Linked DNA regions of Homo sapiens: all the other regions are linked to region 2. Evidence: promoter capture Hi-C in human tissues and cell types (Jung and others, 2019). All regions are on one chromosome and are shown on one strand. Each heading gives the region's core, a stretch centred on a gene start or on the middle of the fragment in contact. The rest is flanking DNA. Distances are from core to core; before and after follow the strand shown. Region 1 overlaps LOC112268152 (a long non-coding RNA gene). Region 2 holds the start of C15orf62 (chromosome 15 open reading frame 62). Region 3 overlaps INO80 (INO80 complex ATPase subunit).

The links. The method cuts DNA at HindIII sites, captures the fragments that hold promoters and counts their contacts. A contact is called where the count stands out against the background at its distance.
Region 1: a fragment that was not itself captured here is called in contact with the fragment with the promoter of C15orf62 in region 2 in 1 of the 25 tissues and cell types used here (aorta).
Region 3: a fragment that was not itself captured here is called in contact with the fragment with the promoter of C15orf62 in region 2 in 1 of the 25 tissues and cell types used here (IMR-90 fibroblasts).

The regions. Positions count from the first base shown.
Region 1 is chr15:40,317,082-40,320,677 of GRCh38, reverse strand. It overlaps LOC112268152 (a long non-coding RNA gene), which reads left to right. Exons shown (of 3, transcript XR_002957721.2): 2 at 3,185-3,282. Among named protein-coding and RNA genes, the nearest start is that of INAFM2, 4.8 kb to the left of the region's middle. The HindIII fragment of the contact is 9,874 bases long and covers 1-3,596 here.
Region 2 is chr15:40,767,897-40,771,867 of GRCh38, reverse strand. C15orf62 (chromosome 15 open reading frame 62) reads right to left here and starts at 1,888. Exons shown (of 1, transcript NM_001130448.3): 1 at 1-1,888. The coding sequence starts at 1,372. The coding sequence ends at 845. It overlaps DNAJC17 (DnaJ heat shock protein family (Hsp40) member C17), which reads left to right. Exons shown (of 11, transcript NM_018163.3): 11 at 3,806-3,971. The coding sequence ends at 3,928. RefSeq lists enhancers at 755-1,371, 1,329-1,418, 1,372-1,990, 2,609-3,227. The HindIII fragment of the contact is 9,899 bases long and covers 1-3,971 here.
Region 3 is chr15:41,098,762-41,102,375 of GRCh38, reverse strand. All of the region lies in intron 1 of INO80 (INO80 complex ATPase subunit), which reads left to right. Among named protein-coding and RNA genes, the nearest start is that of INO80, 16 kb to the left of the region's middle. The HindIII fragment of the contact is 3,775 bases long and covers 1-3,534 here.

The DNA.
Region 1 (3,596 bases), core at 905-3,404, 450 kb after region 2:
AAAGGGCCAGGAACTTGCTCAAGGTCACATAGTCCTAATGCCTTGGAATTCAAAAGCCCTGATGGAATTCAGACCTCTGACTCCAGGGCATTAAGCTCTTGATCCTGGTTCTGCTCTGTCTCATAGGCAAAGCTAGACTTTGTCTCTATAGTGGATATTGGGGGTTACTACCCGGGTCAGCCTCAGGAGGGAGGTGCTCATTCTTCCAATTGTCAGGAGTGTTGGCTATGATGGCTCAGCTGCAACTGTCACTGGGACTTGCCTTCTGACACCAAAGGAAGCTGCCTCTCTGTCCTGGCCTACAAGCCCAATACATAGAGCCAGATCACAATAAAGCCCAGTCAGAGATGTGCAGGGGCCCACTAGGGAAGAAGGCTAGACCATGAAGTAGTTGCGGAAGTAGCCAGTATATACTGGCAGGATCCAGGAGCGAATGTATAGGCTAGATCAAGGTGGGGTGTGGTGCCACACATTAAGTTGAACAAGGGATACTTCGTTGTTATAGGAGTATTCTCCTGTGAATCAGGATGTGATATCCTGACAAGGATCCTGGGAGACAGGAGGAAGGCAATGGCCACCAGAGTGTAATGGAAATGCCAGAACTACCACAGCAGAATGTGGAAGAAGGGTTCAAAAGCTCACAGAAATGGGTATATTCTATGTAAGGCCAGAAACCACTTAAGTTCTGCAGGAAGGCCCAGAGGATACTCTAGTTACCAAAGCAACAAGGAACACACTGGTGAGAGCGGTACCAGCATCCCTGAGAAGCTGAGTTTGGACTGTCCTCTGTAAGCCATGCCTGACAGCAAGAGGCCATTCCAGAACTGGCTCCAGATAGCAGTGGGGATGATAGGACCATGAAATCATAGAAGCTAGACAGCACAACTGTTGTAATAAGCAGCAAGTTGGAGTGGCAGTGGGGGCAGTCCTGGCCAGTAGAGGACCATGGTTGAAGATGGTTGATAGCATAGCATCCCTGGAGCAAGCTAGCTAGGCAGCCAGTAACAGTACTGCTCTATCTATACCAGTGATTCTCAAATGTTTTAGTTTCAGGATCCCTTTACACTCTTAAATATTGAGGTCTCTAAGCCTGATGTGGTGGCTCGCACCTATAATCCCAACTACTTGGAAGGCTGAAGCAGAAGGATCACTTGACCCCAGGAGTTCAAGATCAGCCCGGGCAAAATAGTGAGACCTCATCTCTACAAAAAAAAAAGTTGAAAATTAGCTAGGCAGGGTGGCACATGCCTGTAGTCCCAATTACTCGAGAGGCTGAGGCAGGAGGCTCGCTTGACCTCCGGAGTTTGAGACGGCACTAAGCCATGATCATGCTACTGCACTCTAGTCTGGGTGACAGAGTGAGACCTAGTCTCTAAATATATATATATGTATGTATATATGAGAGAGAGAGGTATCTAAAGGGATTTTGTTTATGTGGGTTATAGCTATTTTTATTTGACATATTAGAAATAAGACCAAGGGTTTTGCAAAATATTTATTAATTTGTCTAAAGAATAATAAGCCCCACTACATGTTAACATAGATAATATATATTTTATTTATTTATTTATTTATTTATTTTCCAAGACAGAGTCTCACTCTGTTGCCCAGGCTGGAGTGCAGTGGCATGATCTCGGCTCACTGCAACCTCCGCCTCCCAGGTTCAAGCAGTTCTCCTGCCTCAGCTTCCCGAGTAGCTGGGATTACAGGTGCATGCCACCACACTCGGCTAATTTTTGTATTTTTAGTAGAGACAGGGTTTCACCATGTTGGCCAGGCTGGTCTCGAACTCCTGACCTTGTGATCCACCCGCCTCGGCCTCCCAAAGTGCTGAGATTACAGGCGTGAGCCACTGCACCTGGGCAGATAATATATTTTTATGACAAAAAATAATGAAAAGAGTGGCTTTGCTTTGTAAATTTGCAAATCTCTGGAATGTAGAAGACAACTGGATCCTCATATCCACTTTTTTTTTTTTTTTTTTTTTTTTTTAGACAGGATCTCACTTTGTCACAAGGCTGGAGTGTAAGTGGCGTGATCTCAGTTCACTGCAACCTCCACTTCCCAGGTTCAAGCAATTCTCCCACCTCTGCCTCCCAAGTAGCTTGGGACTTCGGATGCACACCACCATGCCTGGCTAATTTTTGTATTTTTTTGTAGAGACAGGGTTTTGCCATTTTGCCAGACTGGTCTCAAACTCCTGAGCTCAAGTGATCCACCTGCCTTGGCCTCCCAAAATGCTGGGATTACAGGCATGAGCCAACATGCCTGGCATCTCATATCTGCATCTACATTTAATCTGCTGGCAATTTGTTGTTATGGTTAAAATATATGAGGAAAATCCAGCCTCATATAGACATGTAGTTGGAAAAGAGAGGAACATTTTAACAGCCTTTTCAGATAATTGTGGCTGTTTTTCTTTGATGCTACACCAAAACCCAACAAGCAGTATTTTCTTAAATGGTGGTTGAAATGTAGACTATAAAACTATATCAGTGAACTTTTTTTGTGCTCAATTACATTAAAGTCCATTGATCTAACTTGCCCTTTGAATGGCACTTTTACCCATGCATGATTTTATAATATCCCACGTTGATCATTTGGAAAATATTGGTTCACTGAATTAAACATATCTTTGCAATATTGATACATTTCATTATATAATAGAAAAAATCACATTTGATAATATTATAAAAAGTTTAAGTATCAGGAATCTAGGAAGCTCATGATAGTGCATACATGTTTTCTAAAATTCTAGTTTTTACTTGAAAACTCAAATTTTGTAATTGGTAACAAACACTATCAGTTATTTTTTTCTCAAAGTGACAGGCTCACTTGGTTCAAATGTGAGAAAACATCTGCCAAATAGCCAAGTCTGCATAGCCATGGTTTTTCAGTTCTTCTTTCAAGTAAAACTGGTGTTCCATGAAAAGAGCAGCTAATTGAGCTCACGACCCAATCGCAAAAGTACTTTTCCCCAAGAGAACCGTTATACTTCCATATGCAGTAGAGTACTTTCATTTAATCACATGGAATATTAAAAAGACATCTATTTAAGGGTCATAACTTCATACAATTTAACAATTGATATCGTTTTGTTAAAGATATTCTAAAGTAAAACGACTTTTCTCCCTTCCTTTTTTTTTTCTTTTCTTTCCTCTTTCTTTCTGCAATGAACTACTAGTTCAGTTTGGTGTCACTGCCTTGGTTGTTTAAGGTGCCAGAAGTTTTACCCACCATTGCTTTAGCACCATCAGTGCAAACGACAACACAGTTAAAAAGGTAAATAACATGTTAGTATTATTATGAAAGCAATTTTGACCTTGTGAAACCCCTGAAGTGATCTCAGGGACCCCAAGGGGTCTGGAGACCACACACTGAGAATTGCTGAGCTGTACAATTAAAATAAATCAAGGATGAAAGACCAGGAGGTTGATGGCAGCTGCTCCAATAAAAAGTCACAATATCTTGTTTGGTTTCCAGTCCCAATTCAATTTTCAGTTCAGGTTCCCAGGGGAAAGGTTTCTGCAATACTATAGCAATACAGTAATGATTTCCCCACTACTTCCCTAAAGGGAACTATGCCGTTTACCTGG
Region 2 (3,971 bases), core at 639-3,138:
TTTTCCTGAGTTATACTCTATCTCTACCTATCTCTTCCTATGTGGCCAGCCCCTGTATGCGCCTCCCCTTTGCTGGTGGCTCCAGGCCATGGTCTAGACAGCGCTGTCCATTAGAACTTTGTGCAGCGATGTTTACGTCCATTCTGCACTGACCAGTGTGGTAGCCATTAATCATGTGTGGCCACCGGGCATTTGGAATGTGGAATCTGGAATAACGGTGCAGCTGAGGAACTGAACTGTTAATTTTATTTATTTCAATTCAGTGTCATGCAGTGAGTGGCCACCAGATTAGACAGGGTCAGGCCTTCTCCCCTTTCTTCCTGGGCCTTCCCACTTTCCTCTTCTGCCTGGGTTGGACTGCCTTTACCCAAGCTTGTCCTGTGACCTCTCTCTGTTGACAGTGGCTTCCAAAGAGGCTGGCATGGGGCACTCATCTCTTCTGCTCAGTCTGTGTCCTCCCACTCCCTGATCTGACCCCGTGCCACCTTCTGGCTCTGCCAGCCTCTACCTGGTTCCTGTAGTGCCGCACAGAGCCTCCCTTTCCCGGCACAGCCTCCCTTTCCCGGCATAGCCAGCTTTCTTCAGGGTCCTGCCAGGAAGGGCCGCCCCCCCAACATTTCCAGATTGCCTCTGTCCCTCCACTCTGGGGTGCCTGGAAGGACTGTCCAGGACCCAGAGAGCAGGCAGAGCCCTGGATTCCTATCCTGGAATCCTCCCCCAGGATGAAGAAGCTCTGCCTGCCTGAACCCTCCAGCGATGGGCCTGGAGTCCTGTCCCTGTCCTTTCCTTAATCCCCAGCCTCTGGATCTTCCAGTCACCCCGGCTTTGCCCACCCTCACCCCATTTAGAAGCTGGGCTCGCTAGGAAACTGCTCCCTTAGCATCTGCAGAACTTCCTCAAGAAGTGAAATCCCCAGGTCCACTTTGAAGGAGAGGAAGGGATCACTGAGGTCTGGGGTAGGTGTCCTCTGGAAGCAGGGAGTGTCCACAAGGCCCTTCTCTGAGTGCTGGTGGAGGGCACTCGACAGAGAGAGCGCCGATGGCAGGGTGGCAGAGTAGGCTGCTGTGTAGGCAGGTGGGGGCTCCAGGATGTTGGGGCAGCTTGAGCTCTCTCGGTAGAGGCGTGGGGGCTTGGGTGGGGCCAGCAGGGTGGCCCGGGGCTGCTCGTCCCCCCACAGTGGCAGGCGCCGGCCATCTGGCCTCCCTTGTAGCTCCCGGATGACTTCTCGGTTGCTGTACTCCTCGTGGTCCCCACCTGCTGTGCTGGCCTGGCTAAGCACACTACTCTGTCGCCGGAGCCGCCGTGGCCGCCCCAGGCTCAGCTGCTTGAAGAAGGAGGCGTTGCGGAAGGAGCCTTTCCGCCAGGTCTCCATGGGGCCCAGGGGAGCCAGCAGACAGGTGTTCAGGAGCAGCCAGGGTGCATGTGGTCCCTGCTGGGGCAGTGAGTGCCAGCAGCTGGGGAGGCTCCCCTAGGAGCAGAGGCCTCAGGGTTTCCACTCAGCACAGACCTTTGACCACATCTTGGATGGTGAGAGGAGGGCTCAGGAAGAAGGAACTTTTTTGCCCAGGAGAGCAGACAGCTGGGAGTTCCTGGCAGCAAGAGTTTCCCACAGGGACAGGAGTGGCCTGGTTACTGAATAGGGTAGTGGAAAAAAACCCAGGAGGAAGAAGCAGCACTTACTGGAGCCAGAATGAGGGCAGCTCCGGCGGAGGCAGAGGTGGACCTTCTCGGGCTGGGTGAGGCTGGCGAGCGCTCCTTCCACAGGCAGGCAGCAGATGGCCCGAGCTCACTCGCCCTGGTGTTTGCCTGGCTCCTATATGTCTCTGGGGCAGTGTGGGGCCGTGCCCTCTCTGCCAGTGGCTCCCGGACTCTGATGAGTGGCCTGGCTGTTTGTGGCGGTGGAGATGTGTTTTTGTTCTCAGCTGACTCAGTCAGGTGGGAAGCCAGGTTTCGTGCTCTTGGGTAATTGCAGCATCCGCGTGCAGGGATGGGGCAGCTGGGACCAACACCCCAGGGCAATGGGGAGCTTAAGATTCCTCTGGGGACTCGTGTGGGGGCAGCCCTGCTTTATGTGTCACCACGCGGCTTCCTTTCTGATCACAGCCCCACCACCCTGGGCCCCCAGCAGGTGCGCCTGGCTCCCTGCCCACAGTGTCTGGGTAGGAAGAGTTCGGGGCGGGTGGGAGTTAATTGAAAGGCAGGCGTGTGGAACGATTGTTGGGGAAGGAAGAGACCTGTAGCTGGTATGGGTGACTCAGCCCCGCTGTCAGGCCCTCACGAGCAGGAACAGGAAGGGGGGCAGAGGGTGTGTTAATGGGGAGCAGCGCCATGCCTGTGATGGGCGGGCTCTGCTGCCCAGGGTTGGGCTGGGGGCCCGCCAAGGGTGGCTCCAAGTTTTCTTGGCAGAGCAGCATTAACCTGGGGATGGGAGATGTGGCCTCCTCTTGGCCTGCCATCAGCCTGGCTGCTATTTCCTTGTCCTCCCTTGTTTTACCCTAGAGGGCTCCTGCCAGGAGAGCGGCTGCTGAAGGCCGGGCCGTGTTGCCTCCTACCTGGCTGTGCTCCAGCCCTTCCCCTCTGGCTACCGGGCTTCCTCTGGGGTCCTCCTTCTCTTGCAGGAGGCTGGGCCAGGGAGGCTGCCGTGAATTGTCAGCCGTGCTCTGGGCCAGGCTTAGCAGTCCGGCCTAGCTGGGACTGCTGCAGCCGGGGAGAGGGGAGGGGTGCAGCCATCGGGAGGAACAGGGGAACCCAGGCTGAGTAACACTTCCTGTTTCTCTACACCCCTTACTCCAAACCTGCTGGCCAGGGCCTGGCATCTCAACCCTAGCTGCTCCCTTCCTATTCCCCGGGTCACTGACCACCACATTTTCCTCCTGCCTTGCTCTGTGACAGCGTCCCCATGCGGGGTACCGCGGATCAGGGCCCCACAGCTCTCTGCTACGGGCAGGCCACCGCATCTTGCAATCCCTGGCCTAGCTCACTTCTGTGCCAACTCAGGTGTGCTTCACACTTCTCTGAGAAGCTGTTGGGACCACATGATCATCACACAGCCTAAGCGGCACCGAGGGAGGAAAAGGTTTAATTCCCACCGCAGACCTTATCAGGGCGTGGGTTGGCAGCTTAGGTCCCGCTGTAGAGCTGCTTCTCCACCCTACAGCCTTGGCCCATTCAGATGGTTGTTTATTATTCTTTTGATTATGGGCCCTGCCCTCCAGGAGCCCTGGTGTGTAGTTTTAGAGGCACGCTGGCCTCATGCTTGCCTTTTTCCCCTTCGAGGGTGGGGCATTCCGGGCTGCCTCGGGTAGGGCTCCCTTCTGCATCCTCAGCAAGAGCCAGACCACAGGGCACCGGGCATAGAGAGTGCCAGGGTCAGTGCCCAGCAGAGCCAAGTGCATCCCTGCTCCTCAGACAACTTCCCTTCCTTGGGAACCTAAGAGGCAGAAGCTACGGGGTAGAGGGAAAGGGGTGAAGGGTAAAGGGCCCAGAGGAAATGAAGGGAGACGAGGGCCTGGCTTAGAGGGCCCGCAGGTGATTCCTGAGAAACAGATGGACCGGAGCTGACGCGGCCTGGGGAAAGGGAGGGGGAGCTGGCTGGGTAGAAGCCGGCCTGGAGGCCAAAGGTGGCGTGTTCTGGGGGACACAGGCGAGCCAGGATTCCAAAAGGATGCTCCGGGTTCCTTCCCTTCCTCTGCCGTCCTCCCTCCGAGACTCTTAGAACGCAGCACTGCCTCGGCACCGTACTCGGAGTCTGTGAGGCTGTGCCCTGCTGTCCCTGACCCCTCCCTGTCCCTGCCCTGTCCGACAGGGCTCAGTGCTGTCAGAGAGGGACTACGAGAGCCTCGTCATGATGCGCATGCGCCAGGCGGCCGAGCGGCAACAGCTGATCGCACGGATGCAGCAGGAAGACCAGGAGGGGCCGCCTACGTAGCCCCAGCTCCAGCCATCCACCCCTCAGCCCTTTTCTTCAACGT
Region 3 (3,614 bases), core at 398-2,897, 330 kb before region 2:
TTTTTAAAATCCTGAAATGAAATCTATAGGTAATATATAATTTTAAAAAGCAGTATGATGCCCTAATTGTAATATATTGGGGAAACATAAATAAAGTAACTTACACAGTATGTACTTTAAAATGCAAATGCATGGGCATGAACCCATAATAAGTGACATAAGACATAGTCGTATCTTCTTTTTTTGAGATGGAGTCTTGCTTTGTTGCCCAGGCTGGAGTTCAGTGGCACAGTCTTGGCTCACTGCAACCTCCACCTCCCAGGTTCAAGCGATTCTCCTGCCTCAGCCTCCTGAGTAGCTGGGACTACAGGTGCGTGCCACCAAGCCCAGCTACTTTTTTGTATTTTTAGTAAAGGCGGGATTTCACTGTGTTAGCCAGGTTGGTCTCGAATTCCTGACCTTGTAATCTGCTCGTCTCAGCCTCCCAAAGTGCTGGGATTACAGGCATGAGCCACCATGCCCGCCAAGAAATAGTCATATCTTTTGTACTAGTATGGAGAATCACCTTGACTAAGAGTTACAAATAGGCCGGGTGCGGTGGCTCACGCCTGTAATCCCAGCACTTTGGGAGGCCGAGGTGGGTGGATCACGAGGTCAGGAGATCGAGATCATCCTGGCTAACACAGTGAAACCCCGTCTCTACTAAAATACAAAAAAACTTAGCCAGGCGTTGTGGCGGGCGCCTGCAGTCCCAGCTACTCGGGAGGCTGAGGCAGGAGAATGGCTTGAACCTGGGAGGCGGAGCTTGCAGTGAGCAGAGATCTCGCCACTGCACTCCAGCCTGGGTGACAGAGCAAGACTCTGTCTCAAAAAAAAAAAAAAAAGTTACAAATAAAGTCTGTTTGTGTTGGTGACTCAAATATCACAGCAAGTAAGAGGAAACTATTGAGCTAAGGTGAAATAAAAGAGGATGGAATGATTTGCTCTTCAGGCTCTTCCAAGATGAGCGGGGAATGACTTCAGCATTTTGAGGAAGAGGGAAAAAAGATTTGAAGTAATCTTGGTAGAGAATGAGAAACAATTGGTAGAAGGTGGGTAAAAGGGTTATTGAGAATTATCAAGTGTTTTGCTGAAGTTGGACGATAACAGATGGGTCAGGTTGATGGCCATGCAGTTTCCTTGTAGGGAATAAGAGACAAATGAGGAGATGAAAGTGGTTATTGCAGCAGCAGCTTTTAACATGCTAATCAAGACTAGGCTGAATTGAGAGGCCAGCAATCTTAAAAGGTGATTAAGAAATGATTGTCAGCCGGGTGGGTGGCTCATGCCTATAATCCCACTACTTTGGGAGGCTGAGGTGGGTGGATCACTTGATGCCAGGCGTTTGAGACCAGCCTGGCCAACATGGTAAAACTCCATCTCTACTAAAAATACAAAAATTAGCTGTGTGTGGTGGGGTGCGCCTGTAGTCCCAGCTACTTGGGAGGCTGGAGGTGAGAGAATCACTTGAACCCAGGAGGCGGAGATTGTAGTGAGCGGAGATCACCCCATTGTGCTCCAGCCTGGGCGACAGAGGGAGCCTCTGTCTCAAAAAAAAAAAAAAAAGAAAAAATTGTGAATGGTAGTAATGGTTGCACAACAATGTGAATGTATATAATGCCACTGAAGTGTACACTTAAAAATGGTTAAAATGGTAAGTTTTATGTCTTTTGCCACCATAAAGAAAAAAATTGAACACTTAAAAAATATAACTTGGTTCTCCAGATGTCATCATAGGACTTCTTGTGGAGAATTTTGTGCTTACAGCACCTTTTTTTGGTGGTATTGTGGACATAAGGGAATTCATTGCAGCTGTCATTTCAGCCATCAGTGGTGATATGCTGCAAAGATGATTTCTGGGATGAATCAGTTGACAGGACTGATGTATACTGGGTGTCAAAAGGGAGCATATATTGAGGATTGTAAGACTAGAAGTTAACTGTGATCTTTCTTCAACAAATTGTTTTTGATTTCATACTCACATAGGTACTGAGGAATAAGTTTTGAAAATATTCCATTCATTGGCCGGGCACAGTGGCTCACACCTGTAATCCCAGCACTTTGGGAGGCCGAGGCGGGCGAATCACGAGGTCAGGAGATCGAGACCATCCTGGCTAACACAGTGAAACCCCGTCTGTACTAAAAATACAAAAAGTTAGCCTGGCGTGGTGGCAGGCGCCTGTAGTCCCAGCTACTCGGGAGGCTGAGGCAGGAGAATGGCGTGAACCTGGGAGGCAGAGCTTGCAGTGAGCCGAGATTGGGCCACAGCATTCCAGCCTCGGCTACAAGACTTTGTCTCAAAAAAAAAAGAAAAGAAAATATTCCATTCATTTCGAATCACTCCGTATTACTTGGTAGTCATACCTCCTTAATTAGTGTCATTTTCCTTATCAGGTAAAATAACTAGAGCATGGATTAATTGTTCTGTAATAAAAGCTTGGGATGGAGCCAAGCAGAGTAGTTTTACATTTATACATGTATCAAGATGAATTATTTGCTGTTCTCTTAAGGGAGTTTTGTTGTATTTTAAAAACCAATTTCTTTGAAATCTTCTGGAGTGGGTGGGTACACGTTAGGTCTCATTTTGAAAAGGTGAAATTTAAAGTTTTTTTTTTTTTGGATAGTCTCACTCTGTTATGCAGGCTGGAGTACAGTGGTGCGTTCATGACTTACTGAGGTCTCAACCTCCTGGGCTCAAACCATCCTCCCTCCTCAGCCTCCCAAGTGGCTGGGTTTACAGGTGCATGCCACTACACTCAGCTAATTTTTAAATTTTTTTGTAGAGACAAGGTCTCGCCATGTTACTCAGGCTGGTCTTGAACTCTTGGGCTCAAGCTCTCCTCCTGCCTCACCTCCCAAAGTGCTGGGATTACAAGCTTCAGCCACTGCTCCTGGCCAAAAGTATTTTTTAGCATTCTTTTTTCTTTATATTACCAAGACTGACAATTTACAAACTATGAAATTCACATAATTTAAATAAAATATACAGTTCAGTATATTTTGAATATATTTTTGGTAGATTTACAGAATTGTGGAACTATCGCCACAATGGGAGTTTGGAACATTTTTTTTTTCCCTTTTTCTTTCCCTCTCTCTCACTCTCTTGTTGTGTGTGTGTGTGTGTGTTTGTTTTTTTTTTTTTTTTTTTTTTTTTTTTTTGAGACAGGGTCTTACTCCAGGCTGGAGCACAGTGGCACAATGATAGCTCACTGCAGCCTTGACTTCCTGGGCTTAAGCAATCCTCTCACCTCAGCCTCTTGAGTAGCTGGCACTACAGGCACGCATCACCATACTTGGCTAATTTTTAAATTTTTTGTAGGGACACGGTCCTGCTATGTTGCCCAGGCTGGTCTCAAACTCCTGGGCTCAAGGGATCCACCCACTTCAGCCTCCTAAATGTTGAGATTATAGGTGAGAGCCACTGTGTCTAGCCTGTCTTTTTTATTATTCTAGTGGGTATGAAGTAGTATGGTGCTTTAATTTTAATTTATTAATATTTAGCATTTTTTCATGTGTCTATTAGCTAGTCATACATCTTTGTTGGTAAAATGTTCAAAATCTTTTGCTCATTTTTAAATTGGGTTATTTATCTTATAGAGTTGTAGGTTTTATGTGTACACACTGACAAACAACTG